2 separate regions of the Homo sapiens genome follow, and region 2 is linked to region 1. The links are contacts of gene promoters, found by promoter capture Hi-C in blood cells and fetal thymus (Javierre and others, 2016). All regions are on one chromosome and are shown on one strand. Each heading gives the region's core, a stretch centred on a gene start or on the middle of the fragment in contact. The rest is flanking DNA. Distances are from core to core; before and after follow the strand shown. Region 1 holds the start of DNAJA1 (DnaJ heat shock protein family (Hsp40) member A1). Region 2 overlaps LOC124902152 (a long non-coding RNA gene).

The links. The method cuts DNA at HindIII sites, captures the fragments that hold promoters and counts their contacts. A CHiCAGO score of 5 or more calls a contact.
Region 2: a contact is called between a fragment that was not itself captured here and the fragment with the promoter of DNAJA1 in region 1, in 1 of 17 cell types (neutrophils). The highest score is 8.0, in neutrophils.

What each region holds. Positions count from the first base shown.
Region 1 is chr9:33,022,127-33,026,522 of GRCh38, reverse strand. DNAJA1 (DnaJ heat shock protein family (Hsp40) member A1) reads right to left here and starts at 1,250. Exons shown (of 9, transcript NM_001539.4): 1 at 1,140-1,250; 2 at 1-48. The coding sequence starts at 38. It also overlaps a transcript of APTX not described here. RefSeq lists enhancers at 600-669, 626-1,220, 1,198-1,492, 1,815-2,410 and silencers at 770-909, 1,190-1,339. The HindIII fragment of the contact is 3,848 bases long and covers 301-4,148 here.
Region 2 is chr9:36,404,021-36,408,416 of GRCh38, reverse strand. It overlaps LOC124902152 (a long non-coding RNA gene), which reads left to right. Exons shown (of 2, transcript XR_007061475.1): 1 at 1-4,396. It also overlaps a transcript of RNF38 not described here. Among named protein-coding and RNA genes, the nearest start is that of RNF38, 6.0 kb to the right of the region's middle. The HindIII fragment of the contact is 7,166 bases long and covers 1-4,396 here.

The DNA.
Region 1 (4,396 bases), core at 1-2,500:
ACCCCCAAAACATCGTAGTAAGTTGTTTCTTTCACCATCTTCTACTGCCTGAAATAAGAAAATGCAACTTTAACCGGCTTTCAACTGGTAGCTTTTAATAAAAAAGAGAGCTAAGGCCGAGCAATCTCTTTGCAAAATCCGATTATAAGAACACCACCTTCCCTAAATTTCACCAAAAAGGTAACAATTCCTGCGATAATTCAGCTATAAACTCGAACAGACAAAACAAATAATCATTATCGGGAAATAATCTGAGAGCCGCCTTCTAGCAGCTGGTTCCAATTTTCCTACACCAAAGCTTCCATACTAATATAACACAACTATTATCTGGATTCTTCCCGTTTGCCCTAGAGGCGGTGACAGTTGTAACCAAAAGAAGCACTGATATGTTCAGTCTACCGGTCATTACACTATCACTGTCTTTGGCAAATCTGATAAACTCCATATACTCTCCAGAAAAAGACGTCTGGGCACACAGTGGTGGGGGGGAGTGGTTTATAGAACAGGTTACTGGCTCCACACAGCAAGCCCTCCACCGCCCACGGCTTACAGCTTCTCCAGCCGAATCCCTCTCGCCCCTCAGGCTGGCAGAGTTTACCTGCCAGGTTTCCCCTTGCACTTGGCGCTGACCGATTTCCTTCCTTTCTCCCTCCCACCCTGGACCCAAGTGGCGGTGGGGAAAGCCCAGCCCTCAACAAACAAAGGGAGGGGAAACAGAGAAAGCGAAACCAAAAGCCGCAGTCTCCGCCCGGCTCCCCCCGCAGCCCCTCGCCCCTGCCTCCCTGTGCGCGTGCGCAGGGTCGCCAACCCCACTCCCCCCCCCCACCCCGAGCGAGCACGGACGGGGAGGGGGGCCGCGGGGGCGCGCACGGAGGGGCAGCCGAAGACAGTAGCTCCTTGGAGATCCCAGGCTGGGGAAGGAGGGAGGTCTAGGAAAGGTCTCGGGCCCATTCACTGTGCGTGCCGGGGATGGGTTGCCAGGGCACCACACCAGCCCTCCAAAAGGGAAATCGTGGGCCCAGGAACTGACAGCGGTCCTACCCACGCGGCCAACTGCCTCCCGACCGCGGCTCCATCGGTTTCCCGGCGCCAATGGCGCCAGCCAGGGGACTAGGGGCAGCGCGAGGGCTCAAACTCACCGGTGCGGGCTGAGGCCGGTGTGTGAGGGAGCGGGAAGGAGCGCCGAGCTGTGCGCAGCCGGGGTAGTTACCGCTCCTCCGCCTCTCACCGAGCGTTCTGGAAAGTTCCGCCCGGCGCGCCGCAGCCGTCCTCTTTTGTAGCCGAACCCGGGCGCGTCACCCGCCGGAAGTCCCGCCCTTCTCGGCCGCTGCCACCGCCCCGCCGTTACCTGGGCAACGGCGCGGGGGCGCACGGGTCGGGAGGAGCTGCGCCGAAAGGCCTTGTGGGTGTTGGTGCTAGCGCGGCTTCCCGGCGCTCGTGGAATCTTCTGGAGCCCTTTTCTCCACTCAGCGAGCCTGAGAGTGCGGAAGTCTCCGGCTGGTGGGGCATGGCCCAGGAGCACTGCAAGTCCTAGGGTTCCCAAACCTGTGGGGTGGCCGCCTGGGCCCGCGAGGGCGGGAAGGGCTCGAGTACAGTGACCCAGCGGGAGCTGTGTGTGAACGGGAAAGCTCTTGGAACAGTCTTGCCCCCCCCCCCCCCCCTCTTACGGGCGCCTCTTCTCTTTTTGGGAACGTGGCGAGCAAAAAATGCTTGAGCCAGGTGGGTCTAGTCCCCAGACCAATAGCATAGGCCTTGGGTCTTGCTGTTTTTCACGCGTGGTCCAAGGCGGCATAATTAATCAAATTGTGAAGTTGTTAAGGCTTTTTGTGCAAGTCCAGGCCCCTAGACACATGTTATCTGCCCTGGACCTCGCTGATTCGTGCAGATTGAGCTCAGTGTGTCTGGGACTGAGCTAAACAGTGAGACGTTTGGACCGTCTTTGATGTACAGAGGGCCGTGGACTCCTCTGGTCAGGTTTTCACCCAGTTTGGCTACAGAGTAGCCGCAAGAGTGTCTGACTAAAACAATTTGTTTAATTATTTGACCTCACTTTTAAATCCTACGGGTCAGGGAACCTGGATGTACAATCTGCAACGTAAGACCTCGGACTTGAAAATGGTACCACGGGGGCTTAATGGGAATTGGGGTCCGCTTCTTTATCCAGGGACACAGCAGGTATGTCAGTATCTAGCACCAAGAAAGATGGAGTTTGCCACGCTCGGTGGCTCACGTGTGTAATCCCAGCACTTTGGGACGCCAGCGTGGGCTGATTGCGTGAGCTCAGAAGTTTGATACCAGCCCAAGCAACATGGTGAAACCCCGTCTCGATTTAAAACAAAAACAGAACTGGAGATGCAGAGTTGAAAAGCCCCAGTTAGACTTTAGTGAGAAGCCAAACAAGTCAACAGACTGCCAGAGAAACCATGAGGTAGAAGTCAGTAGGGGAGAGCCTCCTATATTAACCTGATAGATCAGAGAGAATTTCTTTGGGAAAGTGGCAATTGAGCTGAGTTTTGAAAATGGGAGGAGAGCAGTGGACAAAGCACAGGGGAAGGCTATACTAAGGTGTGGAAGAATATGATGTTTTTAGGAAATTGCAACTAATTGGATATAGCCATAGCTAAGGGAGCTAGAATAGCCGGAGGTGAGGCTTCAAAGCTAGTTAGGGCATGCCTTTGTCTGTTGGTATATATGCTACGCTAAGAATTTTGAACTTTATCCTTGGAAGCATCCTCATGCTGCCTCTTCAGCCTTTTCTCTTTCATTAATTTTAACTGTGCATTCCAGTCACAGAACTATCCGCAGTTTCCCATATACGCCTTTTCACCTTTGTATGCTTTTGCATTGGCTGACAGACACCTGATTTTTTTCAATCTTAGGTGTTGCCTTCTCAAGTATCACCTCTGGTATAAAGTTTTTTGTTTAAACCAACCGTTAATAAACGTCTAATATTACCAGGCAGTGTACTAGGGCTTTGTAATACAAAAATCACGTAAGTCAGGCCGGGCGCCGTGCCTCACACCTGTAATCCCAGCACTTTGGGAGGCCAAGGTGGCGGATCACCTGAGATCCGGAGTTCTAGACCAGCCTGGCCAACTTGGTGAAACCCTTCTCTACTAAAAATAGAAACAATTAGCCAGGTATGGTGGCACGTGCCTGTAGTCCCACCTTCTCAGGAGGCTGTGGCAGGAGAATCGCTTGAACCTGGGAGGCGGAGGTTGCAGTGAGCAGAGATGGTGCCGCTATACTCCAGCCTGGTTGACAGAGCAAGACTCTGTCGAGTCTCAGAAAAAAAAAAAAATCACATAAGTCGTGGTCCCTGCCTTCAAGGAGCTCACAACATAGGGAACCAGAAACAAACAGTTGAGTGTTAAATGCTAATAAAGGAAGAGTAGGGGGTGCATGGTGGCTCAAGCCTGTAATCCCAGCACTTTGGGAGGCCAAGGCAGGCGGATCCCTTGAGTCCCGGAGTTTGAGACCAGCCTGAGCAACATAATAAGACCTCGTTTCTACAAAAATTAGAGTTAGTGTGGTGGTGTGGGCCTGTACTCCCAGCTACTTGGGAGGCTGAGGCAGGAGGATGGACCTGGGAGGTCAAGGCTGCAGTGAGTGGTGATTGCACCACTGAACCTCAGCCTGGACGACAGAGCAATACCCTGTCTAAAAACGAAACTAACAAAAAAGTTAACACTTTTAAGAAGCATTCTTACGTAAAATAAAATAAAAAAACTGGCAATAACTTTGTATGTGGTCTTCGTTTGTACAGAAATGGGATCATTATACAAGCTGTTTACAGCTTGCCCTTTTCACTTTGTCATCTTACTATGCCAGGATAAATAACTAATCTGCCTTGTTATTTTTAATGGCGTAGTATGTAGGCACCGTAATTTATTCCCCTACTGATGAATATTTCAGCAATTTCCAGTGTTTTACAAACTGCTGCAGAGAAATTAGCAAATACAGCTTTGAGTACTCATGCAAGTATTTCTGTTGGATGGACAGCTAGAATTGAAATTGCTGAGTCAACATGAATGTAGATTTAAAATTGTAATAAATAAGTTTCCATACTGGTTTGTAACTGCTTCCAGCAGTGTGTGAGTGGGCCTTGCCAATATGAGGGCCTTTTGTTGTTAAATCTTTGCTAAGCTTGGAGATAAAAAGTGATATCTTATTGTTTCGAGTTTCTTTGTTAGTAAGTTTAACCATGTTTTAAATGTTTACTGACTCTCCTGTCAACTGTTCATATTATTTTACCATTTTTCTGTGGTGTAATTCCACTATTTTAATAATAGCCCTTTTAGGGGTAGATATTAGTCTGTCATGTGTTACAATTGTTTTCTTTAGTATATTCTTCGCTTTTTACTTAGTATCTATATATATATTTTTCGGCCATATA
Region 2 (4,396 bases), core at 817-3,316, 3.4 Mb before region 1:
GCCTATCTTTCCTCAGGGAGTACCCTGAAAACTACTGATTCCCCTCCAGGGTCAACTCCAAACTGTGATCAGTTAGCTTTGCTTTGAATAAAAATTGCCAGCCTTGGCAACATGGTGAAACCTAGTCTCTACAAAAAAAAAAAAAAAAAATTAAGTCTGTTGTGGTGGTGTATGCCTGTAGTCCCAGCTACTCAGCACTGAGGCGGGAGGATCACTTGAGCCCCCAGGAATTCAAGGGGGCAGTGAGCTGTGATCATGACACTGCACCTCAACCTGGGTGACAGGTTTCAAAAAATTAAAAAAATTGATGCTGCCTTTTAGGAGGCAGTGTAGCAATATATCTTGAAATTTTAAGAAAATTCACATACTGTTTGAACCAGCAATTCTACTTCTAGAAATGTACTTTTATGGATATATTTTCAAATGCTTGCCAAACTATATGTATGTACAAGAATATTAATAATAGCTTTGTAATAGCAAAACACTGAGAACAACCTAAATGTAATACAGGATTTAAAAAAAATACAGAGATGGTTCCTCCCTAACAAAGAAAGAATTGGCTTTGTTGAAAAGAATAACCTAGATCTGTATGTGGCTAACTTTTTTTTGTGCTCTGGGTCTCCATTGGATTTGGTAAAAACTGTAGTGCCAGAATATGATTGCCCCTGAGATGAAGCTGCTGGAGCATACAGTTGAGCTCAAGGTGCTGTCTGTTCTCCGGAACAGAACAAGCAAGAGTGTGGCTTCAAAGAGTATAGGTTACAGCAGGCCATCTAGTGGAGGCCTGTTGCCTCAGGGTCAGCTCCTGCCTGGTTACCCTGTTCTAGAGGTTGAATATGCTGTGATGTGCAGTGTATGCTTTATTTGTGCCCTTGGGTCTCCACTTCTGATTGGTATAGGTCTCTGTTTTTCTGCTTCTGACTTGGCTGTCCTAGGCACTTAGGTTTCTTCATTTGAACTCCTTCCTGGCCGATGCCTTTTCACTGTCCACCTGCTTTAGCCCCTTCACACCTTCACTACCATGAGCTTGCCCTCTGTCATTCCAGCTACCATGGTTCAGTCCAAGTCATCTCTCACCTGCACTGTGGAAACAGCCACCTGACTAACTCTTCACCTCAAAGCTGGATAAGTGGCTATATAATATGGGAGGCTTTCAGTGGACTTCGATTTGGGTGAGCCTTTGCTGCCCTCTTCTGGTCTCTAGCTGCTATAGCCGGCAGCTGCTACTAATTAACTTTTTCTACTTTGATTTGTGTTAACATTTCTGGGTGAAACTGCTTATGCTGATTGTTTTGCAGTAGTAGATCAAGTTGTAGCATGCTTGTAGATACTGCGTAGGCTAAATGCTGTTCAGCCAATATGCCTTTTCCCTCAGTGCAGCTTTATCTTTTGTTTTTTGGGTTTTTTTTGTATTTTTGGTGGAGATGGGGTTTCATCATGCTGTCCAGGCTAATCTCAAACTCCTGAGCTCAAATGATCTGCCCGCCTTGGCCTCTCAAAGTGCTGGGATTACAGGCGTGAGCCACCGCGCCCGGCCCAGTGCAGCTTTATGTTATTCAGTCCTTTTAGCTGGTTTTGGAGGAAGAAAGGAAACTTAGGGATGACAGCAAAGCTAGCTTCAGGGAAGATTTTGAAATTTATTTTTTCTGCATCCCTTTTCCTCTCTTTTCACTGCCCGCTTTCTGTTGTTCCTGTGCTTCATTTCTCCTTGGGAATTTACCAAGCGAGAAACGTAGAATCAGCCACTGCTGTGAAATATTTACATATCATTAACAGAACTATTTATTAAGCACATGGTATGTGCTAACCCCTTGCCAGATTTGGTAAGACTTAGTCCTTGGCTTCAAGAAGTTTACTATTTATTGGGCAGAAGTGTCAAGTAAATACAAAGTTGGAAGGCAGAATGATTAATGCTATTTTAGAACACACAGGAGAGGCCACTAACTCGGCAATAGAGATTGAGGTTGTTGGAGTGAGATTATAGTAGGGATACTTGGATGTGGATGTGATGGCAGAACAGTACTGACAGTGTTAACCAATGAGGAACTGCCTTCTCATTAGTAGAGGTCCAGAACTTCCAGCAGGTAAGCCATTCTTTACCCCAGCACCTCCTTTGACATTTCCTTCCATGTGAATGGTTCTTCAGCATTTGGACAAGTGGTTCTTTACCTGTAGCTGTTGAATCATGCCTTTCAATGCCTTAAAATAGGAGATGGTCCTCTTTCCATTTTTGTGCATTTTCCGTCATCCATTCTTCCCCCCAACATCGGTGTCAGTGATATACAAACAAAGCAGAACTGAGACTTGAGGAGCTTACAGTTTAACAGGAGGAAACAGATATTTGATAAACGCTGTAAGGTGTTATGATACAAGTGTGTAGAGGGATAAGGAGGACAGCCTGTAACCTCATAGTCAACTTTTTTGTAAAAAGATCCTTCAGATAACCATTATTTTAGATATTCCTTGATGTCTAGAAATGCAAAACTGGTCACAAAAATAAACTGTATATTTACCATTTGACAGACTATTAACTAGCACTTATTTAAATTTGTTTATGATTATTGTTTAGTGTGTTTTAAAATGTATTTGTAGCAACGGTACCCTTCAAATTCACAAGATTGGGAAATGGTTTTCTAGAAGCAGATAGTGAATTTCAGAATGAGATCTTTCTTATATATATATCCTAAGATTACAGTTGTTTTGCCTTAGTTAGAAATAAAGAAAAAACAGGACATCTAAGGAAATTTAACTCCAAGTCCAGTTAGCCAACCAGCAAATTTTCCCAAACATTTAAAGAAGGCGTTAACACCAGTCTTAAAGAAACACTTCTAGAGAATAGAAAGCAAGCCAGTACTCCCTGATTCATTTTCTGAAGCTAGCATAAGTCTTTGTAACAAAACTTGATAGGGACATTATAAACATGGAAAATTACAGGTAAACTCACTCAACACAGAAGCAAAAATTCTAAACAAACCAAATCAACCATTTAGAGCAATACAGTAAGCCTAAAATGGGCTGATTAGAAATGTGAATTCCTAACACCCCCAAACCAATCAAATTCACATATTAACAGAAAAGTCATATGATTAACTTGTAGATACAGAAGTTTTTCATAAAATCAAACATCCATTTATGAATTTTTTTTTTTAAGAGACAGAGTCTCTCTCTGTTGCCCAGGCTGCAGTGCAAAGGCACGATTTCAGCTCACTGCAACCTCCGCCTCCTGGGTTCAAGTGATTCTCCTGCCTCAGCATCCCAAGTAGCTAGGAGTACAGCCACGTGCCACCATGCCTGGCTAATTTTTTGTAGTTTTTAGTAGAGATGGCGTTTCACCATGTTGGCCAGGCTGGTCTCCTGACCTCAGGTGATCTGCCTACCTCGACCTCCTAAAGTGCTGGGATTGCAGGTGTGAGCCACTGCACCTGGCCCATGTATAAATTTTTAATATATTAGAAATGGCAGAGAACTCCTTTAATTTTCTAAAGGGGTCTTAAAAAAAAACAAAACTACAAACACCGTACTTAAATGTCGACAGTTTTTCAGTTGAGGTTTGGAATAAAACAAAGCTGTCTGGTTAGCACTGTACTAGAGGTCGTTGCCAGTGCACTAAGACAAGAAAATGAGTATATGTTGGAAAGAAAGAAATGGAACAGCCAGTATTTTCTGCCAAGTAGACAAGGATATAAACAGAATTGTTTGTATAGAAAACTCAAAAGAACTGAGATAAACTATTAGAATTAATAATTGAATTATATTAACAAACCTAGAATAAACCTAAGAACTAAAATATGCAAGACCTTGATAGAAAACTATAAAGCATTATTGAAAGAATTAAAGACTCAAGTAAATAGCTTATAGATTGCTATCTTTACAATATTTAATCTTCCTATATTCCTTAACTCATTTCTAGATCTAATGCAGCCCAAGAAAATCCCAGCAATTTCACCTTTTTCCTTGTCTTTTTTTCTTTCCTTCTTTTGAAATAATTTGATTCTAAAATTCCTATGGAAATTTAAAAGGCCAGAGATAATGTAGACACTCTGAAGGATAACCTGCTGTAACAGATGAAAGGAAGTCTTATAAAGCTGCAGTAATGACGATGGTGTGGATCAGCACAGGGATAAAGAGAACAGTGCAACAGACTACTGAACCCAGAAACAAACTCATGCATATGTGGCCACAGTTTTTTAAACAAAGGAGCAGTTGGCAAGTCTTTTTCAGTATATGATGCTGTGTCAAGTAGATGTCCGTATGGGGAAGAGGGCACTTGATTCCCTCCTCACCAACACCAAAAATCAATTGCAGGTGATGTGTAGATCCAAATGGAAAAGAGAAAATAATAAAAATTCTAAGGAAATAATATAGGTGAATGTCTTTATGACCCATGTGAAGGGAA